Regions from separate parts of the Homo sapiens genome. Here regions 1 and 3 are each linked to region 2. The links are contacts of gene promoters, found by promoter capture Hi-C in blood cells and fetal thymus (Javierre and others, 2016). All regions are on one chromosome and are shown on one strand. The core of a region is centred on a gene start or on the middle of the fragment in contact, and the rest is flanking DNA. Distances in the headings are between cores, read along the strand shown.

Region 1 (4,940 bases), core at 487-2,986, 530 kb after region 2:
TATAAAGCAGGAATAGTAACACCTTTTTCTATCTAATAGTGCTGTTCTGGAATCAAAGAAAGGATATCTATTACAGTTGTGAATACCGTATGGGCTTTTTCTCTTCTTATGCTATACTTAGCTGTGCACATGCCATCTCTGGATCAAACAGTAGTCATATTGACTGCAGAATATGTGGCTGACTGATCACAGCACCTAACCCAGTGCCCTGTTTGCAGAATAGCCTGAATAAATACTTTTTATAAATAATGAACAAATCTCCATTTTAGATTATTTTGCCTTATTTAATTAACTCTTTTATTATATAATATGCTAAGTTTATAACCTGATAAACTCATGTTTTGGAAGTAGATGCATAATAAATCTTAAATATATGATGTATTCATCAGAGATCTCAAATGATTCTAGCAGAAGCTTTGGAACTGGAATGGCTCTTCAGAACTGACCCAGTTGAGACAAGGGGGCTAGATCTTTGGACTGTGATCTGACCACTCACTGACTACAGGCTGCTATCAAAGAGGAGATGTAAACCTGGTAAGGCAGCGTCCACAAGCCAAAGGCAATTCCTGGAATACAACTAATCAGTGAGATGTTAGCAGTCAAAATTCCCAGATGCTTGGAGGTAGAGCACCTCAGTTCTAAAGGGAGATTGTGTACTGCAGTATACAATACCATCCACTCTTTGTATCTTCTAGATATTATTGCTTTATATAGCGAGTTCAAATCCATCTGGAAACAGCTGTTGTTGGGTTCTGGAGGAACTTTTTTTCTGGGGAAATCTTATGAGAGGTCAGTGGAATGAAGTACTTCACCAACACCACCACTGTGTTTAATCTTGAGGCCACAACTATTACTCATTATCTTTCTCTTCTATTCCCCATTCCAGTTTCCTGTCACACTCAGCCAGGCTCTCTGCCTCCTTCTTCTTCTTAGGAAGAAGCATGATTTTACTTTTCTTCCTCTGCACATGGGAAGCCCCTCAAATGGGAACTCTGCCCCAGTCTAACATTACCTGCCACTGGATAGTGAGTTGGTCTAATTCTACATTAAATGAGCAAGCCCCTTTGACCCTTTCCCAATGCTGTGTTCTTTGACCTACATGTATCAGTAATATTTTGGCTTCCACCTCAATCTTTTAATTTTATTTCTCAAATAATGAGAACCTGGGTAGGAAGAAGGACATTATTCCATGGGAGACCATCCAAGACCACCCTTCTTCCATAAGGAATTAGGCTGCTGTAAATGTTTGCTAATGGTGTTGGTGATATTTAATGAGGCAAACACCTCTTCCAATTCTTCTTTCTAGCTGTAGACTGATCTGATTTTCAATTCAGTGGGCTTGGTTCTATCAGTGTTGAATCCTAACTCCATGTGGGAAGAATGTCTTACCATCTCTTGAATGATACACTGTTCCTATGTGTTCTGGAAGCTTCACAGAATGTTCAGGGAGTTTGCCCTCTTAGTGTTTGTCATACATTTTATTGCTCTCTCCTCTCCCTCAGACTCTGGACCTTCATCAAAGTACAATATGAGTGTCAGGCATCAGCCATAATTAAAGTAGTATTTCTGCTAGCTCTGTCCAACTGTTTGTATGTCAAATTTGTGCATCACAAAACTTTCTCCTCATAGGATGAATTATTTCATAGGTAGCTATGTGGTCCTTTAGGGAAACTGGCTCTGTGAGTTCATGCGTCTATTTTTTCTGGTATGTACTAAATTCACACCTCCTGCCTGAATCCCAGGTAACCACAGGTATGCTTTTTAGAGCTGTACATTATATTTTCTTAGAATTCTGACTAATACTTGATGATTGGCCCATTTTAACCTCAAAGCATTTATGTCTGTATGGGATGTAGCCCTAAATTGAGTCAAAGCAAATGAATGGAAAATACATGTTGCGTGGCCAAATTGATTTCACGAAGTTTTTTTATCCATTGTAAAATTTTCCATCACTTATTCTTTTCCTGCTTCTTGGCCTTCACCTCCCTTTTTCTTGTTGTTTTTGGCATTTCGTCTCCCAAGCTGTGCCTGAAATAAGCTTTTCACATATTGTTCTCATCTATAGCTTATATCTTCTCTTCCAGTCAGCTCTATCTCAAAGAACATCACAGGGTTAGAGAGATAACCTCTGTCTAATATGGGAACTAAGTAAGACTGCATTGTGACGGAGAAATTGCCCTGTTTTTTTTTTTTTCCAGGATGGATCCATATCTCTTTAGAGATGAAATAAGGAACTATTTCTTTTTGAAAGAAATTTAAATTTATATCAGTGTCTTTGTATTCATCAGGATAAAATTTCCTAGGGACTCTAACAAATAATTCCCACATCTCAATGGCTTTTATGATCACTCATAAAAATGCCAGTGTGAGATGCATGGCTCTTCTTGGTAATTCCTTCATGTGCCTTTGCAATGTCAAGTTCTTTTGCTTCCAGCAGTGCTCCTTCTAGAAGGAAGAGGGTGGAGAAGAGAGAACAATTAGGATGTCTTATTGCGAGGCCTAGAACTGGTGGCTATCCTTTCTGCTCACATTTCACCAAGTAGAACTCAGTTTTATGGCTTTAATAATTCAAGGTAAAATATCAAGTTACAATTTGAGATAACGTAGCAAATTTAAGGTAAAAGGGCTAATGGAAAATAAATATCCAGTCAAATATTAACTGTATAGAAACATCCATAGAAGTTTCTATATTTGCCATCTTCTTTAACAAGGGCTGGGAAATGTAGTCTTCTTGGTGCCAGGGAGAGGGCCTAAGACTGGTGAACAGATAGACAGTCTCTACCACATCTCCTAAAACAAACAAAAAGAATAATTTTGGGACAATAACTATAGCTAAAGTAGAAATATATGGATGTGAGCAAAGTAATATTAGTAATTAGTAGGACTGACTTATTCCAGCTCTTCTGGGCCCCAATAATACCAGAGTTTATATTTATTTGTGAGTTACAGAGAATGCAATTCATCCAATGTTCAAGAAGTTCACAAAATAATTTGGCATACTTTGAATTCAATCCACTGTGTTGTGTACCTCTTACTTCTCTGAAGCCATAAACTTCCTTCAGGACAGAACAAACTACTCTCTCCTCTGAGCTCTCATAACACATTTTTCCTGTTTGTCAAGGGAAGGCTGAGATAAACCCCAAGAATTCCACAGGAGCAGAAGGAGAAGGGGCAGGATGTTCATGGTTCTTCAGCTTTACAGCATCCCATGAGGAGGCAGGTGTAGCTTGCCCTCACTGCTCCCCAGTACCTCCCCTTGTTTTTTTAAATAGGATCTTTGGAAGCAAATAGACAGCACCCAGCTGATTTGGTGACAGCAGAGAGAGGGCTTGCAAGAGGAGAAAAACTTGATGTGACTTGATGCCCAGGGAGGTTGCATACAGTGCTGATATGCAAAGTGTCTCCCACTATAGGGAGGAAGAGCCACCAGTCCCATTTGACTTTTTCCTAGGGATCTGAAGAGAACCCCTAGGCAGATCATCTATCAGACAATCTTATTTGTCTCTCCTTTATACCTCTTTTATAATGCTTATAGTCTATTTTACTATAATCCATTTGCCTCCTTCTTCCCAAGAGCGTAGTGAACTTATTTTTGCTTTATTATTTATCATTTCAGTGGGTCTAGCACCTAGTGAGGCTTATGGCACATAGCAGGTGTCATTACTGATAAATATGTTAATTTATCAATTAATAATTAGACTCTTTTCCAGACTACTTTAGCACTTCTTACTACCCCCATAGAAAGTATAAATTGTAATCAATCTAGTCAAAATTATGCCAAAGAAACATTATAGGAAGTATCTTATTTAGCTCTTCCTATGGGAACATGTTCTACGTATTACTTCTTCATAGTGGGTCATTTGTCTCATTAACTGACAGATTTAAGAAAAAAGCACTAGACTTCGAGTACAATCTGTTTTTATCACTAATTCATGCTGAGGGTTACAAGGCAGGGGATAAAAGATGAAACCAGAGCAGAATGTGTTGATCTTACTGACTTAAACCAAGCCTACTGAATTTTTCACTTTCTAGGTTTGACTAGAATAGCAGTACATAGTTTAGGGGGATGGGATAATATCTGAAATTTACATCATTCTGATTCCTTTTCTCTATGTAAAAATAAAGGATAAAAAAATCTTCACTCATTTTGAGGAGTTAAGGCAAAGATGATTGAACTGAAAAATGTGCCGAAAGAGTGACTGGCTACCTTAAGTCTTCAGTCCTATTTTTCTCTCTATTGACAAGAAGTGGGCACTACCATCATCCCATCAGTCAAATAGACCCACTTTCCACAGGAGGAGGGAGAATTCCTGCCCCACTGTTGATTTCAACACAGGCCTCCACGCTGTCTACTGCTGTGGGTCACCATGATGGTTTTGTTTGTGTTTGACAGTTTTTTTTTTTTTTTTTTTTTTTTTGCCCATCTCTTGGCCTGAATCCTAGATTTTGGTTTTGTTTCCTGTCTGTAAAAGGTGCTTTGACCTTACAGCTATTACTTGCTGCAATTCTTTTGAGTTTCTTGATCCTTGTTTTTTGTTCTCAGCCTGGATTGTGTCTTGCAAGCCTCTGCTTTTGTCCAAGTTAAAAGTGAGCTTTGAGAGAAAACATGTGGAATGTTTCATATACATGGTAATTGGAATAAACCATTGTCTACTGAAAATACTGCATAATTTATTTTGCATGTGGAAACTCTTGAAAGTGTGTGCCTTAATCTTCCTCCAGTGCTACCACATTCTATTTCCACATTGTTTAATGAGCATTTGTAATGGAAGGACCTCATCGACAGTATGTTAGAGCAGAGGACATTGCTGTAATTTTGGGAGCCCAGCCGAATCACCTCAAATGTATCCTAAATTCTCTCTATTAATTATTCGTCGAAGCAAATTGCTCACCAAGTATTGCCTATTCGCCCTGTCCTTCCCATTGCCTTGATTACTGCC
Region 2 (4,726 bases), core at 385-2,884:
AAAAATCCAACCACATGTAATTCTACCTATGCAAATTATTCGAAAGGGTAAAATACCAGAAACTCAGAATGTCATTTGATCAACATTTTATAAAGCTAATTAAATCATAAGACAAAAAAATTTTAAAACCAACCAATAGGCAGGGCGCCGTGGCTCACGCCTGTAATCCAAGCACTTTGGGAAGTGGAGGCGGGCAGATTATTTGAGGTCAGGAGTTCGAGACCAGCCTGACCAACACGGTGAAACCACATCTCTACTAAACTACATAAATTAGCCGGCCATGGTGGCGGGGGCCTGCAACCTCAGCTACTCAGGAGGCTGAGGCAAGAGAATCACTTGAACCCAGGAGGCAAAGATTGCAGTGAGCCAAGATCGCGCCACTGCACTCCAGCCTGGGCGACAGAGCAAGACTCCCTCTCAAAAATAAATAAATAAATACCAACCAACAAACTAAATTTCCCTAGTTTTTCATCGACTCTTCATAAAGCTTCCATTCAAAGAAACAAAATGAGTAGGGAAGTTGTAGCTCAAGGTTCTAATTCTAGAAGCGATGCACCAATGACAGTGACATCATTAAAAAGGCCCCTAATGACTGTTAGAGCCGTCTCTAGAAGTTTTCCTGAATGACTTAAACTGATAAAACTTCACATGGACCAACATTCCCAAACATTTCCCTTTAAAATACACTTCCGAAAAATCACACGCACCATCTATTTCTTAGATCTGTAAAGCTCACTCATTTCACCAACTCCTGAAGACCTCTCTAACACAGACTTTTATGACTCTTCCAAATTCACCAAATTTCTTTCCGGTCCTAACTTCAGGGTTGATTCCCTTTTCTCTTCTACAGGAATCACCCCCACCCCAACAATGAAAGGAGATGAAATAAACCAGGAGTTGCAAAGACCAGCGGAGATAGTTACATAGCAGCCTGGAAAAGAGAAAAAAAAAATAAAGAACAAAAAGAGGCGTCTACGGCACCAGACGGTGTGCTCCTTTGTGCACCTATGTTCAGGTATCCCTTGCGCACCAGTCCCACACTTCGCTGGTACACATACCTACTGATAAAAATTAACTGTAAAAGTCAGAAACTCCCACGGTACCTTTCCTTTGGGCTTCTCAAAAATTTTAAGTGATGAACTGCTCTAGAGCTCCGCCCCTTCTTTCCTTACCCTAAAAGTGCAACTTCTGCTCTAGAGAGAAACTTTCTTTTCCCCGAACACCCGTTTTATCCCATCCCCAGGGGAAACGGGGGGAGGGGTTAAGAAAGAGGTCGCCTGGGGGCGCCCAACTCTGCCCTGCCACCCCTGGGCCACAGCCATGCCGGACTTACCCCCAAACAACATAGTTGGTCTTCACATTCTTGGGCCAGGAGAACTCCCCGAAGATCACTTCGTCTCCCTTCACCACAATCTCCTTCTTCTGGATGTTGTACTGTCGCAGGACGCTAAGCACGTCCGCCATCTTCCCCCCCCTCGCCTCCGCCGGCTCGGGGCGCCGCCGCTGCCGCCGCGCCTGCCTCCTTCTTCTCTTGTCGCCTCGCCCTCTTCCTCCTCCTCCTTCGCCGCCGCGACGAACCAACAGCAGCAGCACTAACAGCCGTCCTCGCCTACGACAGCAGCAGGGGCAGTAGCCACCCAGGCCGCCGAGGACCCCGCGCTGTAAGGCAAGGCCCCGCCGCCGGCTGCCCGCGGAGAACGCCTGACTGCGCCCCTCCAGCGAGGCACATCCGCCGCCAGGGGGAGCCGCGACCGCCTGGAAAAGTGCCCCTCCCAGACTTCAGCTGGGCACGGAGCCCACTCACTCGCTGAAACGCTGAGCGCTGGGGCACCGCGCCCACGTACGGCGCACGTACGGGGAACTTTGCCGGGCGCGCGCGCGCGGAGCACGTACCCAGTACCCCGCGGCGCGCACCAAGCGGCGTCAGGTGCGCGCGTACCTGAGCAGTGGGTCAGCACTTCCATCCCCAGCACGTGCACTGAGTATTTAACGAACTGTCTCGGGTGCGACCAGAGGCTCCCCCGGGTCCCTGCTTTGGCCGGGATGGAATTCGGCAAGGATTTGCGGAACACTAGAATTACCTTCCTATTTAGATCGGACCCAGGCCTAGCCAAAGACCTCTAGGACTTAGTGATCCGGAGAAGCCCTTTTGAAAGAGTGGGGCTCTTGGGGTTGGGGTTGGGGTTTTTTGTTTGCTTTTGATGTGGAAAAGAACGAGTTTTGGTTTTTTGTTGGTTTTGAGTGGAAAAGACCGAGTCCAGAAAAAAAAAAAAACAGTTCTGGGCACTGCTCGTCAAGTTACATAGCTTCTCACAGCATCAATTGGTTAATGAAGAAAATGGGGTTAATACGAAGATAAGGTAAACGCGCCTAGCAAGTCAATAAAATATCCTAAATGTTGGATCCTCCCTCTTCATTCTTTGGATGATGACTTTTTCCATCGCGGTCCCTTCTCCCCGCCAATCCCGAAGGGCTATATTCAAAAGGCTGTGTTCCAAGATGTAAATGGGAAAGTTGCCCTAACAGAAACCCCAAACGGTCCAATTTAGAACACTTCCAGACTACCCAATTTTTTAAATGGTACTCAGAAGTCTCAGTGGTGTCCTTGACATGCGTTTTGAGACGGTTAAGATAAGTTCAATATACTATGGCCAACCAAACACATCCTATGGGATTGTTTTTTTTCTTTTACCATGTCAGAAGGAAAAAAGAGGCAACTTTGTGTTTGACATAACCAAATTCCTTGACCTGTTTTGAAAAAAGTCAATCTTTTCACAACGCAGAGGACTACAGATACAGAAGTGTGTGGTTCATTTCCGATATGATCTGTAGCCATTCTGCAACTGTTAGTTTGTGAAATTTTTTTCTGTTCCACCAATGTTTTCACCCCGTAGTATTCTCCTGAATCTCACCCCAAGCACACACATTATAAAGAAATGGCTACAATTACCTATCCCCACATTCTCTATTCATACCTGTGTCAGAGCACTCAGTACCATATTACTTCCCTTTATAGTTTATTTGCCTGCATCCACAAAACTGAAACACCATAGATCTGTGTCCTCATATCCTACTGTCTAACATTATTTGGTACATATTAGTAATAAATGGATGAATTCAATAAATTGATGGAAGCTCCTAGTAAATATCGAGTTAATACATGGATAGAGGCTTCTAATAAATGTTGAAGTAATGAATGGAAAGATAAGCTCAAGGAAGCCAAGATTTCATGATTAGGAGGCTCGACTATAGTCCCTTCAAACGATACTTAATTTTATTTCATACTCAAATAATGATTAAAGTCTCTCTTTTCAGAGAAATTATGTTTTTTAGGTTAATGAATTTTAAAAAGTGGTAAGATAAGTCATTAGTAAGTTGTTGCTTTTAACAGTTAAAGCATTGAAATTTGTAGATCATTTTTTTCCTGACCAGCCTGGGCAACATACCTAGACCCTGTGTCTACAGAAGCAATTGTAGATCATTTTTGTTTTTATCTAAGTACCCTTATAATTGCCCTACCAATACTGGTTCATTGGAGGATGTCAAAATACAATAAAAGGCAAGATTAGTGGTAGAGCTGAAAAATTAGAAAATTAATTAGAAAAAAACAGAAAAATAGTCTGGTTTCTTTGTCTTGGGCAAAAGCAGTCCACATCTCCAGATATTAGCTCCTGAAGAATTCCTAAAAAATCTTTAGTTTTATGTCTTCTGTTAGAGTAAATGCCCAGCAATCAGAAGAAAGTGGTATGTCTTTTTAGTTGGAAACGATGGATCCAACATCATTACCTTGGAGTTTAAACCACTACCTCAATTGCTAACAGTACCCAATAAGGTTCTTTCCACCAGTGCCCAAGGACAGTTTTATTCTGGTTCCTTTTCCAAAGGACCAAATTGCCAGGTTTTAGATCAATCAAAGTCTGCTTAGGTAAGTATTTTGGAAATGCACTTGAACCTACTAGGGATAATTCGGCAGGTAGCATAAGTCTCATGAAGCATTTATTTATATTACTCTGTAATGGTAGAACGTAGGATTGGAAGTAAAATTTTCAAATACATGGGTAGGGGGAGGCTGTTAATTCAAGAAGAGATAATCTGTGGGTCCCAGAAGGGGTTGATTTATTGTCATCAATCAATCATGACTAATGGCAATTTGAAGGGCCATGAAATTTGTTTTTCGAAACTGTTGATAATTTTAGTTTTAGGACTCTGTTAGTTCTCTTTACTTTTCCTAAAGTTTGGGGGAAATCAGTGTGTGGAGTTATAGCTCCCTAGCAAGGAAAAGCCTCAGTCCATCCAGAGAGTAAGCAAACAACAACCCAGACATAGTCATAGTTTATTCCAGGGAATTATTATGGGTTGGGTACTTAATTATGGGTTAATTATTTACTTGATGTCTTTGATATATATAGGTTTATTCAGATTGTCCATTTCTTCTTGTGTGAGTTTTGGCAGATTGTGTCTTTCAAGGGGTTCCATTTTATCTAGGTTATGAAATTAGTGGGATATAGTTGTTCACAGCATTTGTTATTATCCTTTTAATGTTCATGTCATCTGTAGAAATGTCCCCTCTTTTATTTCTGATTTTAGTAATTTGTGTCTTCTCTCTTCTTAGCGTGACTAAGAGGTTCATTGATTTCATTGATCTTTTCAAAGAACCAGCTTTTGGTGTGATTACTGATTTTTTTACTTTCAGTTTTACCAGTTTATGCTTAACTTTTATTATTTC
Region 3 (4,868 bases), core at 1,127-3,626, 550 kb after region 2:
TGATGAACCTACAGTGACACAGCATTATCATCTAAAATCTATAGTTTACATTAGAGTTCACTCTTGGTGCTGTACATTCCATGAGTTTGACAAATGTATCATGATATGTATCCATCATTATAGTACCATACAGAATACTTTTCCTTCCCTAAAAATCCCAGTGTTATATTTTAAAATACCTAGGAGATTGGTTCAGTAAGACATTTCAGATTATGGCTGTTGATATTGATAGGAAAAATAAGGAAAATTTTAATCTTTGCTGAACTGATTTGAATGGAAACATTTGGTTTCAATTACTCCAATTACTGGAATACTAATAGGGAGTGCTTTCCTTAAACCTGATGTTGTTTGAACTTTTAAAATGTTGCTAAAATCTTATTGTGGATATTAGAATTGTGAGACAAGGGGTAATGATGAGTATAATATTCTATTTTAAAATAAAAATGTATCCATACTGGAAAAGTCAGTGACGTGGAAAGATAGCTTGATCCATTGAAACAAAATGTTTCGATTCAACAAAGTTTAATTGCATCCCTACAGTGTATCACACATAAAGCACTGCAGATACAAAGATGAATGAATCTCTGTCTTAAGGGGTTCACTGTGTAGTGGGGCTGACAGATGTTTGTGAGAGGTGCCATCAGAGAGGAATGTACAGAGAAAAGAACACAGAGGAGTAATTACCTCTGGAAGTATGAGAAAGGAAGCAAAGTACTGCTGTCTTTACTGTAAAATCAACATGTATCTATTCTTTGCTTGTTTCTGCATTTGTGTTTAGCATCCCTTGGAAAGTTCAAATGGCTGCAATGGAGAAACTGGTCTCTAGTAAGAGACCAGTTTTATGTTGAAGGATCATGGAAAAATGGATCCCATATGTACTCACAAAGCTTTGCAAACTTTCAAAAGTACTCTGAATGACTTAGTTGAATTAGCATAACCACTCAGAGCTTCCTTGGTCTTCAAGGTTTATAGATAAGGCTACTAAAAGTGTTTCAGCTAAATTTCATAGAGTTTATTTGAAAATTTGAAAAAGCTGCAACAAAAGTGAGTTTAGAAGGATTTTTCTCTGTATGTGTATAGAGGGTTGGTGAAAACTTTATATCGTGTGAATGAAAAGTTTAAACATTTTAGACTTGCTTATGATTTTGTTGTGAAGAAATATGATGGGTTTTAATAAGAGCAAATATATGCAACACACTAAACTTCAATGATCTCAGTAAGTGCAACTGAGCAAGATAAGAATCTAGTTTCTTTTTCTCACTCTGCTCCAATCTTTCAGTCAACACTGACTGCCTCCTTTCTATAATTTGAGAATTTACAAGAAAATAGTATGTGGGACCTTCAGTGAACTGAGCTTATGTGATTCAATAAGCCTCATTCACCCTAAATCTAATTTTACCAGTTAAGTTCTTGATAATAGGCCCGTGTTCCAAGACATTCTTGAAAGCACTGAGGAAATCTTTTGATAATATTATCTCTGGTATACTTATTCCATATTGGATTTATTTTCATTTAATGTCACACTATCACTTATAATCCTTTCAACAAGAGAGAGTAGTTATGTCTGACTCTAGACTGTGCTTTGCAAATAAAATTTCGTAAGTATGGAAGGAGGTGCCTTATTCCCAAACCCAAATAAATGGAGAGCTATGCTAAATGAACACTGACACATTATTTGGAGTTGGGATAGAATGTTCTGTTACATAACAATGACATAAATGCAAAAATGATGGAGGTGCTCAAATATCTGCATGTAGAGGATTTGGAAAGGAAGGTGATATAGTTTGGATTTGTGTTCTCTCTAAATTTCATGTTGAATTGTAATTCCCAATGTTTGAGATGGGGCCTGGTGGGAGGTGATTGGATCATGGGGGAGAATCCCTCATAGCTTGGTGCTGTCTTCACAATGGTGAGTAAGTTCTCTCAAGACCTGATTGTTTAAGAGAGTGTGGCCCCTGTCCCCTACAACTATTTCTCTTGCTCCTGCCATGTGAGACACCTGTTCCCCCTTCATCTTCTGCCATGATTGGAAGCTTCCTGAGACCTCCCCAGAAGCAGATGCCAGCTCTATGCTTCTTGTGCAAGCTACAGAACCGTGAGCCAATGAAACCACTTTTCTTTAAATAAATTACTTAGTCTTAGGTACTTCTTTATAGCAATACAAGAATGGCCTAGTACAGAAAATTGGTACTGAGGAGGGGGGAACTGTTATAAAGTTACTTGAAATGTGGAAGCAGCTTTGGAACTGGGTAACAAGCAGAGGTTGGAAGAGTTTGGAGGGCTCAGAAGAAGACGAGAAGATGATGGAAAATTTAGAATTTATTAGAGACTGGTTAAATGGTCATGATCAAAATGCTGATAGTGATATGGACAATGAAGTCCAGGCTGAGGAGGTCTCAGATGGCAATGAGGATCTTACCGGAAACTGGAGCAAAGGTCATGCATGTTATGCCTTAGCAAAGAGCCTGGCTGTACTATGCCCCTGCCCTAGGGACCTGTGGTAGTTTGAATTTCAGAGTGATGATTTAGAGTATCTGGCAGAAGAAATTTCTAAGCAGCAAAGTGTTCAAGATGGGGCCTGGCTGCTTCTGACAACCTACACTTATATGTAAAAGCAAAGAAATGACTTCAAGTTGGAAGTTCTATTTAAAAGGGAAGCAGAGAAAAAAAGTTTGGAAAATTTCCAGCCTAGCCATGTGATAGGGAATGAAAAAGCTTTTGTGGGAGAGGAATTCAAGCAAGCTGTGGAGCAACCATTTACTAGAGATACTTGGAAAAGGGAGCCAAGTGCTAATATCCCAGACAATGGGGGAAAGGCCTCAAAGGCATTTCGAGGCCTTCAGGGCAATCCCTCCCATCACAGGCCTAGAGGCCTAGGAGGATGGTTTTGTGGGCTTGGCCAAGGGCTCCACTGCTAGGTGCAGCCTCAGGACACTGCTGTCTGCATCCTGGCAGCTCTGGCTCCAGACTCAGCTCAAAGGGTCTTAGATACAGCTAGGGCTGCTGCCTCAGAAGATACAAGCTATAAAACTTGGCAGCTTCCATGTGTGGTTAACCTTGTAGGCACAGAGAGTGCAAGAGTGAATGAGGCTTGGCAGCCTCCACCTAGATTTCAGAGGGTGTGCAAGAAAGCCTGGGTAGCCAGGCAGAAGCCTGCTTCAGGGGCAGAGTCCTCACAGAGAACCTCTACTAGGGCAATGTGGAGAGAAAATGTGGCTTTGGAGCCCCCACACAGAGTCCCCACTGGGGCACTGACGGGTGGAGCTGTGAGGAGGGACCCACCATCCTCCAGATCCCAGAATGGTAGAGCCACTGGCAGCTTGAACCCTGTGCCTGGAAAAACCACAGGCTCTCAGTTCCAACCTGTGAGAGCAGCTACTTGGGCTGCACCCTAAACATCCACAGGGCATTGGGAGTCTACCCCTTGCTCCATTGTGCCTTCCATGTGGGACATGGAGTCAAAGGATATAATTTTGGAGCTTTAAGATTTAAAGACTGCCCTGCTGGGTTCTGGACTTTCATGGAGCATGTAGCCCCCTTTTTCGGCTGATTTTTCCCTTTTGGAGTGAGAATGTTTACCTAATGCTTGTACCCCCATTGTGTCTTAGAAGTAAGTAACTTGTTTTTTATTTTATAGGCTCATAAGGGGAAGGGACTTGCCTTGTCTCGGATGAGACTTTGGACTTTGAATTTCTGAGTTAATGCTGAAATGTCTTAAGACTTTGGGGGACTGTTGGGAAGGGACACTTGTATTTTGCAGTGTGAGAAGAAACTGAGGCTTGAGGGCAAGGGGCAGAATTGATATAGTTTGGATATGTGTCCCCTCTAAATCTCTTGTTGTATTGTAATCTCCAGTGTTGGAGGTGGGACCTGGTAGGAGGTGATTGGCTCATGGGGGAGGATCTTCATGATGGTGAGTGAGTTCTCTCAAGATCTGGTTGTTTAAAAGAGTGTGGCACCTCCCTCCCCACAACCCTCTCTCTCTTGCTCCTGCTGGCACCATGTGAGACACTTGCTCCCCTGTCACCTCCTGCCATGATTGGAAGCTTCCTGAGACCTATCCAGAAGCAGATGCCAGTGCTATGCTTCCTGTATAGCCTGCAGAACCATGAGCCAATTAAATTTCTTTTTTAAAAAAATAAATTACTTAGTACCAGGTATTTCTTTATAGCAATGCAAGAATGGCCTAATACAGAGGTATGTTTTAAATATTAGAGAGCAACTTCAATAAATGACTGTTAACTTTCCAAGTTTCTAATAACACTATTCCAGTGATTTCATTTGCTTTTGTTCTTACTAAACATCGAGGTGGCTAACAATAGAGACTTATTTGCTTTGCTTTTCCTCATTAATTATATAATTTTCTTAGAAAAATCTCTCAAGATTTCCTGACATGTTCTGTTCTTTCCAAAACCATGCCAGTTATTGCTGACAAACACATTAACTCCACTTTCTTCATGTCCTTTCTAATGCTTTGCTTTTATGTCTATTTACATATATCTATATATATAAAGTGTATACATTTATATAATATGTGTATATAATATATATACCTATATATTTTATTATTATTATTTTACTAAATATTGGTGTCAGACTTACCGGACATTTGTTTGTAGTAATAATCTTCCTACTTGAGAAAGTAGCTCTAAGTCAACAGATAGTGTCCATGCTTAGCAGTATACTACTATTATTGTGAGTACAAGTGGTCTGTGGTGTTCCACTGTTTTCTGTGTCTGTTCTGTTTTTTTTTTTTTTATTAAGCCTTGTCTGCCATCTTATTTGTATTCTATTTTAAAAAATAAATGAAAGGCTTTGATTCTGTTGAATCCCAGTGACATGTTCATCTTGCTGCTTTGAAATCTCAC

What was found. Contacts are between HindIII fragments. The CHiCAGO score rates a contact against its expected background, and 5 or more counts as called.
Region 1: a contact is called between a fragment that was not itself captured here and the fragment with the promoter of CDC73 in region 2, in 1 of 17 cell types (M0 macrophages). The highest score is 5.0, in M0 macrophages.
Region 3: a fragment that was not itself captured here is called in contact with the fragment with the promoter of CDC73 in region 2 in 1 of 17 cell types (fetal thymus); the score reaches 5.1 in fetal thymus.

Annotation. Positions count from the first base shown.
Region 1 is chr1:192,584,620-192,589,559 of GRCh38, reverse strand. All of the region lies in intron 3 of LOC105371664 (a long non-coding RNA gene), which reads left to right. Among named protein-coding and RNA genes, the nearest start is that of RGS1, 11 kb to the right of the region's middle. The HindIII fragment of the contact is 609 bases long and covers 1,432-2,040 here.
Region 2 is chr1:193,118,939-193,123,664 of GRCh38, reverse strand. It overlaps CDC73 (cell division cycle 73), which reads right to left and starts at 1,634. Exons shown (of 17, transcript NM_024529.5): 1 at 1,334-1,634. The coding sequence starts at 1,464. RefSeq lists enhancers at 1,197-1,246, 846-1,490, 1,517-1,586, 1,491-2,137 and a silencer at 1,747-1,826. The HindIII fragment of the contact is 13,310 bases long and covers 490-4,726 here.
Region 3 is chr1:192,568,292-192,573,159 of GRCh38, reverse strand. The region is part of intron 3 of LOC105371664 (a long non-coding RNA gene); the gene reads left to right. Among named protein-coding and RNA genes, the nearest start is that of RGS1, 5.0 kb to the left of the region's middle. The HindIII fragment of the contact is 682 bases long and covers 2,036-2,717 here.